Regions from separate parts of the Homo sapiens genome. Here regions 2, 3 and 4 are each linked to region 1. The links are contacts of gene promoters, found by promoter capture Hi-C in human tissues and cell types (Jung and others, 2019). All regions are on one chromosome and are shown on one strand. The core of a region is centred on a gene start or on the middle of the fragment in contact, and the rest is flanking DNA. Distances in the headings are between cores, read along the strand shown. Region 1 holds the start of HSD17B7 (hydroxysteroid 17-beta dehydrogenase 7). Region 2 overlaps UAP1 (UDP-N-acetylglucosamine pyrophosphorylase 1). Region 3 holds the start of UAP1 (UDP-N-acetylglucosamine pyrophosphorylase 1). Region 4 overlaps DDR2 (discoidin domain receptor tyrosine kinase 2).

Evidence for each region. Contacts are between HindIII fragments. The study calls those that stand out against the background at their distance.
Region 2: a contact is called between a fragment that was not itself captured here and the fragment with the promoter of HSD17B7 in region 1, in 2 of the 25 tissues and cell types used here (aorta and hippocampus).
Region 3: a contact is called between the fragment with the promoter of UAP1 here and the fragment with the promoter of HSD17B7 in region 1, in 1 of the 25 tissues and cell types used here (hippocampus).
Region 4: a fragment that was not itself captured here is called in contact with the fragment with the promoter of HSD17B7 in region 1 in 1 of the 25 tissues and cell types used here (mesenchymal stem cells).

Annotation. Positions count from the first base shown.
Region 1 is chr1:162,789,283-162,791,982 of GRCh38, reverse strand. HSD17B7 (hydroxysteroid 17-beta dehydrogenase 7) reads right to left here and starts at 1,281. Exons shown (of 9, transcript NM_016371.4): 1 at 1,148-1,281. The coding sequence starts at 1,182. RefSeq lists a silencer at 1,294-1,353. The HindIII fragment of the contact is 13,139 bases long and covers 1-2,700 here.
Region 2 is chr1:162,593,141-162,595,905 of GRCh38, reverse strand. The region is part of intron 9 of UAP1 (UDP-N-acetylglucosamine pyrophosphorylase 1); the gene reads right to left. Among named protein-coding and RNA genes, the nearest start is that of UAP1, 33 kb to the right of the region's middle. The HindIII fragment of the contact is 3,411 bases long and covers 1-2,765 here.
Region 3 is chr1:162,560,375-162,563,074 of GRCh38, reverse strand. It overlaps UAP1 (UDP-N-acetylglucosamine pyrophosphorylase 1), which reads right to left and starts at 1,353. Exons shown (of 11, transcript NM_001324116.5): 1 at 1,298-1,353. It overlaps UAP1-DT (UAP1 divergent transcript), which reads left to right and starts at 1,722. Exons shown (of 3, transcript XR_426859.4): 1 at 1,722-1,837; 2 at 2,423-2,600. RefSeq lists a silencer at 865-1,764. The HindIII fragment of the contact is 20,893 bases long and covers 1-2,700 here.
Region 4 is chr1:162,638,248-162,640,947 of GRCh38, reverse strand. The region is part of intron 1 of DDR2 (discoidin domain receptor tyrosine kinase 2); the gene reads right to left. Among named protein-coding and RNA genes, the nearest start is that of DDR2, 7.1 kb to the right of the region's middle. The HindIII fragment of the contact is 5,394 bases long and covers 1-2,700 here.

The sequences.
Region 1 (2,700 bases), core at 32-2,531:
CCGCATAGGAGTGGTGACAGCAGTCAGACCAGCCTGGCTGATAGCAATGAAAAGCTGGGTAATAAGTTCTCTTTCAAGACTTAAGCTGATTCCAGGCAAATATGTTAATAGTTAAAACCCAAAAAGAGCCTGGAACCATCAGTAATCTATTAGCACCAACAACAAAGCATCAAAAATATTTATTTGTCCTCACATGAGAACAGTAGGCATTTAATATACAATTGCACATGTCACAATATATGTAAAAGAAACAGACAAAATCAATTCTGACTTACTCAGTACCTTCCACATAAGAAGCACCAATCAACGGTTAAAGTCACTTGAGAGGGTATGCTAAAAAGTTGCCAAATGCAGACACCTACCAAGCTGGCTTAGTTAATACGCATGTGGTTAAATAATTGAAAGTGGATCAATCTTAAATGTTTAACATGTCCTCTGTCTTAATCATTTAAAAATGCCAAATGCAACTAGTAGAAAAATGGTTTGATTGGCTTCATCCTCCACACATTTTTCACAGAAGTGCAAATGACAGGTAAAACAAGCAACAGAAGAGGCTGAGAGACTAAACGAGCAACCCTGGAATTATTATGAGCTGGTTATTCTGCACCCCAACCATGCCTTCATAGGAAAAGATTAATTTTCTCTGGGTTTCTGAAGAGTATGTTAGCTCTCTAGCACTGAGCTAAATGAAACGGGATTGTTTTCTCTCCACCGTCCTAATGTTCATGGGTGTTCAAATTTGTAGGCAAAAGGCTTGTACAGACAAAACACCTGGAGTATAAGACATGATCACGTGGTCAGGAGCAAAATATTGGGCACTGACGATAAATACGAACAGTAGGCAAAGATGGAAAAGGGGCGGAGCCCGCCTGAGTACCCCATTGCCTTGATAACCTCAGGATCATCACTGCGACACTCATCACTTACTGATGCTCTAGTTTTCCTTTTCACTGTCATGTTTAATACAAAGCACCAGTTACTGAGCACCTCAAGAGGCCGACATGCCCCACACCTGCTGCAGACTCCGGGGAACCTAGGCAAAGCCAGGGGCGGGCGCTTCCGGGGTCCGTTCGTGGAGGGTCGCAGACCCCTGCTCTCTCGGACCCCTGATCCGCTGCCGCCTCTGCCAACCCAAAGGAGGCCTCACCTGCTAGCCCCGGTGATCAAAACCACCTTTCGCATCTTCGCGCACTCACACTTCCAAGCAGTGAAGCAAACACCGCCGCTGCTTTCGGAAGTCCTACGATTTCGGGCCGCCTCACCCGTCACCAATCAGAGTACGGCCACGCCCCGCCTCCCGTTGCGTCATCGAGTCTGAGCTGATCCCTCCAATCTCAGTCCGCCAACCGTTCCCTGCCCTCGGAGACGGCGTCGGGTGAGATAGGCCGAGGGGCGGAGCTGCGTGACGCAAAGCCCGGAGCCATTCCAGGCTCTTCTCGCTCCGCCTAGGCGCAGGTGTCTGTCACTGCTTCCTAGGGCTCAGCGGGCGCCTGATCTTTAATCCTGGTGGGGGCGTCACCCGGCCTAGCACTCAGGACAGGATCTGTGACACGCACTGGGTCTGTGCCCTGGCGCCTGAGATTGGCACTTCTTTGCAGGAAGGCCTCACGGTATTTGCACCAGTGCCCATTTTAGAGAAAAGGTTTGGGTCTAGGAGCCAAAGTTGGGCGATTATCATCTAATTTTCCACTCCTTTTTGGATGTACAGATCCAGGCATTGTGCCACTTCACAGCCCAACTTTTGATCCCAGACCTCCTCCTCTAAAGAAGCTTATTTGAGAAAATGAGCACTGATTTTATTAAGAACTTTATGTAGAATCAGACGTAAATTACCAGTATTCAAAACTTGGAATGTGGCGTGGAATCAGAATCTCAGAACTTCATTCTCCGAAGTACTGAGAATGTGCTGTAACCTTCTGTATCAGTGCATCTCAAACTGTGCTAAAGGACCTGTTTTTGTCTCCAAGCCATCCCAGATGGGTGCTTTTAGAAAATACAAAAAAATAAAGTGCTAGAAAAAGAAAAGCAAAAGGCATACAAAACACAAGCCCCGATATTTTATTATTAGATCCAAGACATATAAAAGTACTCTGCCAAAATGAGGCAGAATAGGGTTTGGAGGCAGGGTACTTAAGGCCACTTCGTGCTGACTTCCTAAAGCTCAATCAAGGAAAAACAGCAAGGGCTGGAAGTAGGGAATCTGAGACCAATTGGTGCTGGCTTCCCAAAGCTGGATCAAAAGGAAAACACCTGGGTCTGGGGGCCGAGAGCCTAGGGTCAATTAACACCAACTTCCTAAAGCTAAACCAGAAGGAAAAACCCCATCTCCCCACTCCCCAGTAGCAAAGGATCAAAGGCTACTCTCCCTACAACCTTCTGTTCTCAGACCAAACTGAGGGTTGGGCTGCTATTTTTCAAGGCCCAATAACGAGATGCAGATGAGCTGGGGAGGAAGAGAGTTTTTATTTCTGTAACCGGTTGCAGGGAGAAGGCCTGGAAATTATCACCAGACCAACTCAAAATTACAGTTTTTCAGAGCTTATATGCCTTCTAAGCGAACTGTCTATGTGTAAGTGTGCATTTATCTAAAGACATAAGTGATTAACTTCTTTTAATCTGTAACTAAGGTCTGAGTCCTGAAAACCTTCCTCTGGAGCCTCAGTAAATTTACTTAACCTAAATGGGTCCAGGTGCTGGGGT
Region 2 (2,765 bases), core at 135-2,634, 200 kb after region 1:
CACTCCAGCCTGGGCAACAGAGCAAGACACTGTCTCAAAAATAATAATAACAATAATAAATAAAAAATAAATGTATTAGACACCTGCTAAGTCACTGCCTCCCAGAGTAATTATTGCTATAGCACACATTTAGCACATAATCACATACTGCCTGAAAATGTTACTTAACTTTTATGTATGTGCATCTTGAACATCCCAGTAGTCTGTAAGAAGTGACTTATTTCTCTTGTATAAGATACTTCAGCACCTAGGATACTAATAGCACCTATAAACCTATGAGCAGGCCTACGAATGCTTGTTGTCTGAACAAATAACACTATGAAAATGATGACAAACTAATGAAGGGAAAAGAGGAGGCATAGTGGGGCACACACCTCTCTACATACATGCCAGATTCTACCACAAGAGCTCAAGAGGTCTAGTCCAGACCTTCTGGGGCAACTCAAAGTCATACAAAACCAAATGAATCTTGAGTAGGCATGCCGAGGAAAAAAAAAGGAAAAAATGAGGGCCCACCCCATTAAGATGTATATAGCCCAGTCCCACCTAAACCCCTGAAGGATTCAGTGTAGCAGGAACAGAAGGTGGTTGTGAACCCAAGAAACACATATACAGCTGGCCTGAATATGTAACTTCCATTCTACTACCACAAAGATACCCCAAGAAACTAAGGAGTGAACTTCAGTAAACAAAATTGGATGCCCTGAAGGAGGGAAAACAGAAGCTACCATCACCAAATGTAAAATCTCAGGATATAAGCAAATTAGCCCAATAAACCTACTGCCCCACAATTCTTTAGCCATGCATCCTTTTGGTAGCTAACACTATTCAGTAAGCATTAAGGTGAGAAATAAAAATAATATCGAGTCAAAACTCAGCATGGTTGTTTCCATTCTTTCAGAATACCTCCTAGTTGCTTCTTCCCTCTTTTACATAATATACTTCCTTTTCATCTCTCACAATTACATGATGTTCTTCAGCTGTGTAAGGTCATCCTTTGGTGCTAAGGATTACGCAGGAACTCTTTTTCAGTGCATGGTATCATTTAAAGCCAAACTTTGATTTCACTTTAATTATTCTATAAATGGCTAAAATGAAGTAAACTGGGCGATGGGGGATATTAAACAAAAGAGTAAGAATAATGTTTAAAGCTTTTTGTATCTTAACTAAGATAGCTAGATGCTGTCTTCAGTTATATAATTAACAATCTATTACACTGTTAGGTTAAAAGCTATGGTTCAATGACAAAGAAATTTAATCAAAGTTTTATTTCTTAAATATAAAAGCAGCTTGCTTCCATATATTAAAAATGGTGGATGAGACAGAAAGTGATAAAGGGCTCTGCATCCCAGTTCCCAAGGCAGGAGAGACAACAGTCATCTATGGCAGCGGTCCCCAACCCCTGGGCCATGGACCGGTACTACTCTGTGGCCTGTTAGGACCTGGATCACACACCAGGAGATGAGCAGTGGGCAAGTGAGTAAAGCTTCATCTGTATTTACAGATGCTCCCCACCACTCACATTACTGCCTGAGCTCCACCTCCTGTCAGATCAGTGGCCGCAACAGATTCTCTTAAGAATGTGAACACTATCGTGAACTGCCCATGTAAGGGATCTAGGTTGTGTGCTCCTTATGAGAGTCTAATGCCTGATGATGTCTCCCATCATCCCCAAATGGGACCACCTAGGTGCAGGAAAACAAGCTCAGGGCTCCCACTGATTCTATACATTACAGTGAGTTGTATAATTATTTCATTACAATGTAATAATAATAGAAATAAAGTGTACTATAAATGTAACATGCTTGAATCATCCTGAAACCACCCTCACCACCCCAAGTCTGTGGAAAAATTGTCTTCCACAAAGCCAGTCCCTGGTGCCAAAATAGGTTGGAGACCGCTGATCTACAGCACCTATAAGAAATTGATCAGATCTTTGAGTCCACTTCCTTGTTTACAGAATCACATCCCAGAAACACTGACACTCACAGGAATTTGTCTGGGCAGAGGAATGGCACAGACAGGAAAAAGCACGTGGGTGACACTGATGAAGGTGCTACTCTATTTCTGAGATAACTTCCATCTCCAGATCTTTTGCCCTGCATATATTTCCCAAATTACCTTAAAAACTTTTTCTTTCTTTCTTTTTTTTTTTTTTGAGATGGAGTCTTGCTCTGTCACCAAGGCTGGAGTGCAATGGTGCGATCTCAGCTCACTGCAACCTCTGCCTCCCAGGCTCAAGTGATTCTCCCACCTGAGCCTCCTGAGTAGCTGGGACTACAAGCGTGCATGACCACACCAGCTAATTTTTGTATTTTTAGTAGAGATGAGGTTTCGCCATGTTTGCCAGGCTAGTCTCGAACTCCTGACCTCAGGTAATCTGCCTGCCTTGGCCTCCCAAAGTGCTGGGATTACAGGTGTGAGCCACCGCACCCAACCTTAAAAACTTTAACTTTCAAAGTGTAACAATAACATCAAGCTGTCTCTTAAACTATAAAGATAATGGCTTTTCCAAACTCTGTCAGTACCCAGATGGGAGAGGATATGTGTTACTTCTAACTAAAAATGATCTGCCATTAAGATAAAAAGATTCTTTAGAAGCAAGAAAGTAACTGACTAAAATTAATGCAGTGACCAAAAAGGAGAGCTGTTAGTGTGAGAATAAATCAACAGAACAGTTTTCTCCATATTAAGGGCCATCAAATATGACAGGAACAATCAGCCTGTATACTGAGAGCATACACCCAATTCCACAAGACACATCT
Region 3 (2,700 bases), core at 104-2,603, 230 kb after region 1:
AGTTGAAAATCTGCTCGAGAAATTATGACAAAACTTGGTACATGCCCACAGCCTAATCCATCTGCATCAAAATATATGAAAAATTTGGTAATAATCTACCATTATCAAATATATTTTTATTAGAATTTAAATACCAGTATTAAAGAAATCCAGTATTTCTCCCTCCTTTTCTGGCTTCCCCCACCCAGCCCCTATCTCTGCTGGTATACGTATGCCCTCGAAATGAATAAGTAAACCTCTTAAAGCTTTTGAAAAACAGTATCAGAGTTGAGACATAACCACCAACTGAATCCTATAAATGCTTGGCAGCACAGCCTATGAAGTCTTTCTTTGCTCCAGCTAAGTGAGCCAACTGACTAACCGTGAAGGAATAGACAACTGCCTTGAGTTTCCGGCGAACTCTTGGATCCACACCCAGTGAATTTCACCTAAAAGTCCTTAAACTTTTGCAATACCAAATGACACACACATATGATCATAATCCTATTACCTGATTTCAGATTTCATAAACCATGTAGAAGTAAGTGTAGCACAGCGACAGGCCAAAGTTCAAGCAGCCATATGTTCAGCATACGTGTGCTCAGCCCTCCAATACCATCCTTCTGCTTGGCCAAGAGAGGGGAAACCCAGAAATTTCAATTCTCTCTCACTACCAGTATCATGGCAAACCAAACCAAAAAAAAGAAAGAAAAAAGTGGCAAGCAAACAGGTTTTGTCCCACTGTCCTGTCCTCCAAATGTATCCCCTGTCTTTGTCAGACCTCTCAAATCTTTTCCTCATATATTCAAGACACACCAACTCGCTTCCACCTGACAGTGCCAACGATCTCCTGTCCCACTACAGGCCCCCACACTTGGTATAACTGTCCACAAGGCCCTAGCCTGAGAGCCTCGAGGTCTCTACTGCCCACCCGGGAGAGGCCCCACTCCCAACCCCACACGCCTACACGACCCCCTCGGACTCAGACACTGGCCCAGACCTCCTCCCACAACGCCCCCAGTCCATCTGGGGCGCGCTCATTCCATCCCTGGCCCCGCCATCCACCCGGCTGCCCAGCCCACACACCCTCTCGCGGGGTGGCGGAGGATGGGGTGCGACTGCGGGGCGCACGGGCTGGGGTGTGTGTCTGCGGGCGAGCGGGAGGCTCCTCGGCGTGTGCTCGGCTGCCCGCGCTGTGCACGTTCGTGCGACGCGTGTCCACGTCTGAGCGCGTGGCCGTGTGTGCGGTGGGGCCAGGCCCTCCGCCCGCCCGGGTCCCGAGCCCCGCCGTCTCCTCGCTGGGCTGGGAGCCCCTCACCTTTCTCGGCGCGACCGCAGCTACGACCGTCTCCAGCTCCTTCCGCGCGGCCACTCATCGGCGTCCCGCGCTCGCTCCGAATATATACCCTCATCCGGGGGGCCGCGGCGGCGGGGCGGGCCGGGAGCGGGGGCCAAGTGGAGCGCCAGCCCCGGCCACCCCGCCCCTCTCGCCACGACTAGTGGCTGCCGACGCCTGAAGGAGTGGAAGCCGACCGCCCAGACACGTCAGCGCCGGGAGCACAGACGACGACGCGGACGCGGAGGCGGCCGCGGCCCGGGGCGCCGGGGCGGGGCTAGGGATGGGGGCCGGGCATGAAAGGAGTAACCCACCGGGCCGGGGCGGGGCCTAGTGCGTCACTCATTCTCTGGCCCAATGGGAATAGTTCTGGAGCGCAGTCGGCTGGCGTCCCGGTCCCTCCTGCGCACTAACTGAGGGTGAAGGATGTCGGTTGGGTCTGCTAGGAGGGGCCAGGAGCCGGCCGGCAGAGAGCGGCTCGTGGGTCCCAGGACCCCTGACGTCCCTAGGTTGTACTGGGAGGTGCGAGCCCGAGGCTCTTAGTCGGCCCAGCGGCACGGGGCACAAGCGGGCCACAGAGATGGGCAGGGAGCTGTGTCCCCAGGGTGGCGGATTTCCGAGCCACCCACGCGGGTGGTTGGGAAAGGGCGGTGGATTTTCCTGCGGAGAAACTTTCAGGGCGGGCCTGGCGCGCTCTCTGACCTTGGGCTAGTTATTTTGTGTGCAGTTCACAAGATGCCTGGCCGGGCTCCAAACTCGCTCTCTGTTTGGTTGTGTTTTGGCTCCCAAGAAGGCGAAGCCAGGCCTTTTTTCTTTTGCACAAACAGACAGGAAAGGAGAGAGGAAATGCAAGCAAAGGTAGTAGGTAACCTAAGGTAGTATAAGCCCGGGGTCATCTTTGTGAGTTTGCAGACTTAACGTCGCTAGGCCTCAGTACTCTGCAGAAAGATGGTGGAGGACCTAGATGACCTCCCAGGCCATTCCAGGACCAGTGTTTACAGTCCTGTTACATAACCTAGTGTGGGTGTGCACACACAGGTTATTATATGTTCAGCACTGTGCCCTTGGAAGCTATGTTTACATTTAAAGTTGTGTTGCATTTTGCAGCTTTTGCAAGAAGTGGAATATGTTGAAATACGAAAATACCTAGATTTAACATACCACCTATCATAAAGAGATTCAGGCGCCTTTCTTCTACTTTCTTGGGTGCAAAGGCCTTTTCATTCCCTTTACCAATTGCATAATCACCCACTGCCTCAAGTAACAACAGAAAAACTTAAACTTGGTAAGTAATGCTGGTAGATTTACATTCAGGAGATTGAATACTCTCCATCTCTCATGATCCTAGAACTTCCTTCGTTTCTTTGAAAGAAGAATAGTGTAGT
Region 4 (2,700 bases), core at 37-2,536, 150 kb after region 1:
CTCATCTCTACAAAAAACAACAGTTAGCCAGGTGTGGTAGTACGCACATATAGTCCCAGCTAGTCGAGGGGCTGAGGTGGAAGGATCACAAACGAACAAAAATGACTATTCTTTAAGTGATAGTTATTATAATTTGAAGAGTATGACACAAAAATACCTACTTATCTGCTATTAACCTATTGAATTAGTCTTTTTCAAGATTTTGAAACATTTCTGCCTCAGGTAGCTTTAATAAATAAAATAATATCATTTAAGTTTAGGGTACTTATCTGAAAAACAAAATTAAGCATTTTAAAATACAGATGCTCATGATTATAACTATATTACAATGACTGCCTTCAAATAAGAAAGAAGTAGCCAAGATGGAATCAAAGTATTAGAATTTGGAGATTGGGCAGATTTTTTAAATTAAACTTTAATTCTTTTTAAAGCAGTTGTAGGTTCACAGCAAAATTAAGCAGAAAGTACAGATTGTTCCCATATACACCCTTGTCCTCTGCTACAAAACCTCCCTCACTATTGACATCCCTCACGACATTGGCACATTTATTACAATCAATAAGCCTATCAATAAACCTAATGGTCTGTGATATCAACACATCATTTTCAGCTGGGCGCGGTGGCTCACACTTGCAATCCCAGCACGTTGGGAGGCTGAGGGGGGCAGATCATGAGGTCAGGAGTTCGAAACCAGCCTGGCCAACATGGTGAAACCCTGTCTGTACTAAAAATACAAAAATTAGTTGGGCGTGATAGCACACGCCTGTAATCCCAGCTACTCAGGAGGCTGAGGCAGGAAAATCGCTTGAACCCAGGAGGCAGAGGTTGCAGTGAGCCGAGATCACACCACTGCACTCCAGCCTGGGCGACAGAGCAAGACTTCATCTCAAAAAAAAAAAAAAATCATTTCACCCAAAGTACATTGTTTGTCTTAGGGTTCACTCTCAGTGTTGTACATTCTATGGGTTTTGACAAAGGTATAATGACATACATCCACCATTGTAGTAACCACAGAACAGTTTCACTACCCTAAAAATCCTCTGTGTTCAATTTATCCCTCCCTCACCCCTAATTCCTGGCAACTACGAATAGTTTTTACTGTTTCCATAGTTTTGTCCAATGAAATTCAGAATTCGAAGTACTATTTCTACTGAATGAGTATCACTTTTGCACTGTCGTAAAGTTGAAAAATCGTAAGTTGAACCGTTTTAAGTCAGCACCATCTGTATTTTTCTCAACCTGTGGTTTGTATTCTCATTCTCTTGACATTGTCTTTCACAGAGTGGAAGTTTACAATTTTAATGAAGTCCAGCTAATCAGGGATTTCTTTCACAGATAGTGCCTTTGGTGCTGTAACTAAAAAGTCATCACAATATCCAAGATTACTGAGATTTTTTCCTATGTTATTTTCTATGAGTTTCATTGTTTTGCATTTACATTTTGGTCTATGATCCACTTTGAGTTGCTTTTGTGAAGGATGTAAGGTTTATACCTAAGATTCATTATTTTTGCATGTGGATGTCCAATTGTTCCAGCACCATTTGTTGAAAATACTACCTTTTCTCCATCAGATTGCCTTTGCTCCTTTGTCAAAGAACAGTTGGCTACATTATATGGGTCTATCTGGGCTCTCTATTCTGTTTTCTTGATCTATTTGTTTATTTTTTCACCAGTACCACAATGTATTGATTACCAGAGCTTTACAGTAAGCCTTGAAGTCAGGTACTGTCAGTCCTTTGACTTTGTTCTCATTCAATATTGCAGTAGCTAATCTGGTCTTTTAACTGTCTATATAAACTTTAGAATCAGCTGGTTGAGGCCAGTCATGGTGGTGCATGTCTGTAATCCCAGCTACTCAGGAGGCTGAGACAGGAGAATCACTTGGACCTGGGAGGTGGAGGTTGCACTGAGCCGAGATTGCGCCACTGCACTCCAGTCTGGGCAACAGAGCAAGACTCCGTCTCAAAGATAGAAAAAGAAAAAAGAAAAAAAAAAAGAATCAGTTCGTTGATATCCACAAAACAACTTGCTAGAATTTTGGTTGGGATTAGGACTTATTTTTAATTTCCATTGATACTATTTTAGCGTTATTATGTCCATTTTAAACTGTCTGTTATGTACACATTCTAAAATTACAACTGCATCTGTCTGAGGAACAGATTGCTATTCTTGAGTGAATTTAGCTCCCACTACTCTCTTATTGAGGTCAATTTGCTCCCCTGCATCTCAAGAGGGTTCATCCTGAAGGACAAGTGCCAGTAGCTTTTGAAAACTTCACCAATCCTCTAACTTTTACATGCCTCTGAGAAGTTACAGTACTGCAAGGCATTTTGGTATGGCTCCCACAAGGACTTCCAAAGTGCGATTTTCTTTTACAAAGCCCAAGTAGTCACTCATTTTACTTCCAGCAAGAAATGGAAGTGGCATATATTGGTGTGACTGTACTTTAAAATTGCCAAAAACACACATAGACACACTTGCACGCACTTCTCCAACCTTACCATGGGGATATGGGAGTTTGTTCTTTAATGCTTGGATTTAGACATAGAACGATAGCCATAATTATGATGATAATAATGAAGACCATGGCAACAAAGACAATGGTGATGATAAGAAGTACAGTCCCAGGCCGGGCGCAGTGGCTCATGCCTGTAATCCCAACACTTTGGGAGGCCGAGGCAGGTGGATCACCTGAGGTCA